Regions from separate parts of the Homo sapiens genome. Here region 2 is linked to region 1. The links are contacts of gene promoters, found by promoter capture Hi-C in blood cells and fetal thymus (Javierre and others, 2016). All regions are on one chromosome and are shown on one strand. The core of a region is centred on a gene start or on the middle of the fragment in contact, and the rest is flanking DNA. Distances in the headings are between cores, read along the strand shown.

Region 1 (2,582 bases), core at 27-2,526:
GCAGTGAGCTGAGATCACACCACTGCACTCCAGCCTGGGCGACAGAGCAAGATTGTCTAAAATATATACACACACACACACACACACACACACACACACACACACACACATACATATACATATATATAAACATAAAACAATAAAGTTACTACTATAACAGAGTGGAAGAAAATCTGGGAAAAATAAAGGAGCAAAACAAGTAGTCTACAGTAAATTAATCCTGTATACTTTAGTGTTATAAAATTTGGTTACCTCTATTTATTCTCGTTCAAAACTCTGGACTTAATCTCACCTTCTGACTCGTATTCACTTGCTTTCTGCTTCAAGTCCTCTATTACCAGGTAGACATCCCTGTCCCGGACCCTGTTGCGTTCTGAAAGGTGATGTAAAATCTCTGTGGTCCGTGGGTTCACCTCATACTGTGGAATAGGATGATCTCCAAATATTTTTTTTAACCACGCAGCAACCTAACCATTAAAAGAAAGACAAATATTATAAGCCTTGTTTACTGTAATGGCTCGATGAGAATATGACAAAGAAGTGATCAAAAGCAAACTAAATGCTTTCTGTGACTATTTTGGAGTCCTACTTCACAACCTCACTTGTCTTTAGGGAGATACTAGATATCAGGAAATAAAAAGTGAGCAAGTACACAAAGAAACGTACAATACTGAAAATTACCAGAGAACAATCCGTTCTTTTCCAAATCTGCAAAAGCGGTACAGGCTAACAATTTGCCTCGCTTGAAAAACCTTAAAGCTTAATAGACCATAATAATGCGAACGCATTATTAGACCGTGCATGGTCTGAAAAAAGCAATTGTCCCTCGATCACCAGAAGCCCCGCCGCGCCGGGAGGCTCCCAGTGTTGGGATGCAGGGCGCGGAAGCAGTTCAGATGTGGAAGCCGCCGGGCTGAGCAGCGAACCGGAAGGCGGGTTTGGCTTCATAAGTCCCACTCCAGAGTCTGTGGACACGGGCTGCTCAACGCCTCTCCCGGGCCAGATCCAAACAAGGGGAGGCCCGGGCAGGAAGGGAAAGGCCTTCAGGAGAGTCTAAGCACGGGGGGCTTGCAGATAGTGACGGCGGCACTAAAAGACGGATGTGTGGAATAGGGGAGAGAAAAGTAGACGTGGCGCGCACAGGAGACCCGCTGTCGGCGCGGGGGTGTCAAAAACGCGTTTTCCAGGAGGCCAACGATCCCCATTCCCGCCCCATCACCTGCGTTTCTCTCTCCTCCTGCGGCTCCATAGCTGCGGCTCCCGCCACTTTACTAGGAACTCCTAGCGGGAGATGCGCCCCGCTCACTCCCTAGGCCCCGCCCACACGCCGTTGGCACCCGCCCCTCGCCGGGCCCGGGATTTCTGGGAGTTGTGGTTTTACCTGAGACTCCTGGCCGTTGAGCCCCTGTGCAAGGCTGGTCGAAGGCTCTGGCATTGCAAGCCTCGCTTCGTTGCCACTTCCCAGCTCTTCCCGCCTTCCGCGGTATAATCAACACTACGAGAGATAGAGCCGCCTAGAACCAGGTTGTTTTTTCTTTCTTTTATTTTTATTTCTTGTTTGAATCACTTGTCGTTAAAAAAAAGTACTTGAAACGTTTGGTTCTTGCTTAGCAAGATGTTTGTGTTTCTTCCACATTGATTGCATCCACTCAGAATTTATATTCTACCCTGGCAATATGAGCTGAGGCAATCTTAACTTGATCCGTTAGTTCCCCCAACCTAAAAACTAGGGACATTTTTTTTTTTTGAGACAGAGTCTCGCTTTGTCGCCCAGGCTGGAGTGCAGTGGCATGATCTCGGCTCACTGCAACCTCTGCCTCCTGGGTTCAAGCGATTCTTCTGTCTCAGCCTCCCAAGTAGCTGGGACTACGGGCAAGCGCCACCACGCCTGGCTAATTTTTGTGTTTTTAGTAGAGACGGGGTTTCACCATATTGGCCAGGCTGGTCTCGAACTCCTAACCTCATGATCCGCCCACCTCGGCCTCCCAAAGTGCTGGGATTACAGGCGTGAGCCAGCGCGCCCAGCTTTTTTTTTTTTTTTTTTTTTTTTGAGATGGAGTCTCTGTTGTTCAGGCTGGAGGGCAGTGGCACGATCTCGGCTCTCGGCTCTCAGCTCACTGCCACCTCTGCTTCCCGGGTTCAAGCGATTCTCCTGCCTCAGCCTTCCGAGTAGCTGGGATTACAGGTGTGCATCACCACGCCCAGCTAATTTTTTGTATCTTAGTAAAGATGGGATCTCATCAGGTTGGCCAGCTTGGTCTCGAACTCCTGACTTCAGGTGATCCGCCCGCCTTGGCCTCCCAAAGTGCTGGGATTACAGGCACTGCGCCCGACCTTTTCTTTTCTTTTTGAGATGGAGTGTTTCTCTGTCGCTTAGGCTGGAGTGCAGAGTGACATGATCTTGGCTCACTGCGACCTCCAACCCCCGTCCCCAGGCTCAAGCAATTCTCCTGTCTCATCCTCTCTAGTAGCTGGGATTACAGGCTTGTGCTAGCATGCAGGGATAATTTTTTTATTTTTAGTAGAACGGGGGGTTTCACCACGTTGATCAGGCTGGTCTCAAACTCCTGACCTCAAGTGAT
Region 2 (2,582 bases), core at 23-2,522, 430 kb after region 1:
GCCACTGCACTCCAGCCTGGGCAACAGAGTAAGACCCTGTCTCAAAACAACAACAACAACAGTAAAACGCCCCCCAAACTCCACTTGTATGTGTTATAGACTGCTTTCCCATTTTTGGTCTATACGTACATCACTGGATGCTTCCAGGTCTTTCTTTAACTTGTAGAAGGAGGGTTGACTCTACCTCTGCCCACAGGCAAGTCCTTTTACCTCCCTTAGCCTCAGGCACCACGGCTACAAAATAAAGCTGGAGTTTTCAGCTTCTAAAAATGATAAAATGGAGTAATATTTGGAAAAGTATTTTGGTGAAAACCAATAAATGTTAGATATTATTACTGTGTAGTCTGTCTAAAAGTTCAAGGATCCACCTACAGGGGCTTAAAATTCACTTTAGTGTATTCTCATGTTTCCTGAGATCGTCAGGCTCATTGGCACTTTTGGGAGATGATGTGACTCAGTTTCCTTGAAACCAGTGAGTGCACCTTGATTTATCAGAGGCTTCTGGAATAGAGAGAGGTGCCATGCTGGGAAAGGGGGTGGGGAGTTTAATGAGTTCGGATGGAGGAAGACCTAGCTTCATGTCTCAGCCTTGTCTTTTACACGCAGTTGAGCCACTTCACCTCTTTGTCAAGGCTGGGACTTGGGGAGGTGAGTGAAGCACCTGGGGTGCAAAATTTCAAGTGGCCTTCACTCTCAGGGTCATGGGGATATGTCAGGGTCATCACCTGCTTGGCCCTGAGAGTAAGCACCTCCTTAAATTTTGCATCCCACGTGTCTCCCTTGTCTCACCTTAGTCTTGCTCTTTGACACAACTTTTCCTCGTTTGCAAAATACGAATAGTAATACCAACCTTGAGAATTAGTGTTAAGGTAGAGATGACGTATTTAAAGTGCCTACTTTGTGGTGGGTGTTAGGTGAATGGCTACCTTTTATTTGGGCAATATGACAGCTACTTTTTTTTTTTTTAAGTAACTACAGTGTGCTGGCCTTAGGTTGGTGTAGCAAAAAGTAATTTTAAGAAGAGCAAATGAAAAAGACAGCAGCTTTACCCTTCGTATCTTGTTTAGAGTTCGTAGTCACTGTCATAAAATGCAAAAGAAAATATATCTACAAATTATCTTAAGGAAACAAATATGTGGCCATAGCTGATCCAGAACATCTTCCCGAGCAAGAATATTTGGAAAATTTTTATTATAAATTTATTTTTAAAAATAAGTTTATATAGATAATGTTCACAGAGTCTACAGATGTATTGAAATAGAACTTCTGTTTTAAATGTTCTGCTCAAAAGGAGTTTTGTTTGGTTTCCAGTCATATAACATCAAGAAATAAAGGATGTTCAAGGATGAGGACATACAAATCTACCAACTTGTTACAGTCGATCTAATTTCCTGGGACTCTGAACAAATATATAACAAAGAGGAGTCATTTGAAGGGTCTGTGGTTAATGTTTGAATGCTTAAGGTGAATCGCTGTAGAAGACGTAAATCACCCAATTCCATATGTAACGAGTAACCTGCATAAGAGTTGCTCAGCCAGTTTGCTCCAACCCCCGCCAGGAGAGTAGCAATCACAGGAGACAGCCCAGGAACAACAATCAAACCTCCACCACCGTCTTCATGTGACTGAACGTTGAGTATTCAGTGAAAATAGTGTTTAATCTATTAATTACTAAATAACCATTAAAAAACATAAAAAAACAGTTTTATGTAAAAAGCCTTTTATAAAGGAAACAAATCCTCTGTGGGGAGTACCTACCGCAGGCGATGGCGAGGAGGTGCGTCTGCCAGGTGATGACGTAGAACATGCCTCCTATCGCTATGCATGCGAGGGTGCTGTTGAAGCCACACAGGCCGAAGTAGATGGAGTCAAAGGGCGTCGCAATAGTGAGTGCTGTGACAGAAGGCAGGCATCAGGGTTGGGTCTAGGGTCTTATGGGGCCCATCTGCTGGCCCTGAAACCTACCACAGTCCTCAAAGCCCGGAGCCAGTTATCTTCTTAGGTAGTTATACAAAAAGGACTTCTGGCTTTATTCTGTGAAAAAACATCTAAAGGAAACAAATGGCCATAGAGTCCCATGAATACTAGCAGTTAAGCTGGCATGGGTTGAAGAGATTCTTTGAGTAAGGACAGAAGTCTGATTTAAACAGTCCAGAGAATATCCTTCCCCTGCCAAGAAAGAGAACCTCTCCTCCTTCATCGATACCTTAATTCTCTAATGGAGAACGAATCTTTCTTGCTGTCATTGCAGATCACTTAACATGTAAATATACCTGGAAGAAACTTCCCCCAAACTTTAAATTTATACTAAGGTGTGAATGACTAACACCAAAGCCTTTCTTGAGGGCAGCTGTGGCTCAGGGGAGGATAAAGGGGCTAGATCAAAAACGGAGAAACAGGGTACAACAGAAGGAGGGAAAGTTCACAGGAATCAGCAGGTGGAGTGTTGAAGATGAGAGTCACCATTTTATTTGGAGCTGGCCCCAGGCTCTAACCCCCTCACAGCCCAGGGAAGTGAGGACACAGACCTGCTAGCATCCCCATGGTGGATCCAATTGCTGCATGCAAGCAAATGAGAGGTG

The links. Contacts are between HindIII fragments. The CHiCAGO score rates a contact against its expected background, and 5 or more counts as called.
Region 2: a contact is called between a fragment that was not itself captured here and the fragment with the promoter of HAUS1 in region 1, in 1 of 17 cell types (total CD8 T cells). The highest score is 5.6, in total CD8 T cells.

The regions. Positions count from the first base shown.
Region 1 is chr18:46,103,079-46,105,660 of GRCh38, reverse strand. HAUS1 (HAUS augmin like complex subunit 1) reads right to left here and starts at 1,276. Exons shown (of 9, transcript NM_138443.4): 1 at 1,220-1,276; 2 at 293-467. The coding sequence starts at 1,249. It also overlaps a transcript of ATP5F1A not described here. RefSeq lists an enhancer at 872-961 and a silencer at 1,352-1,451. The HindIII fragment of the contact is 1,925 bases long and covers 762-2,582 here.
Region 2 is chr18:45,672,994-45,675,575 of GRCh38, reverse strand. It overlaps SLC14A2 (solute carrier family 14 member 2), which reads right to left. Exons shown (of 20, transcript NM_007163.4): 17 at 2,529-2,582; 18 at 1,759-1,893. All of the region lies in intron 7 of LOC105372093 (a long non-coding RNA gene), which reads left to right. Among named protein-coding and RNA genes, the nearest start is that of SLC14A1, 50 kb to the left of the region's middle. The HindIII fragment of the contact is 3,136 bases long and covers 1-2,582 here.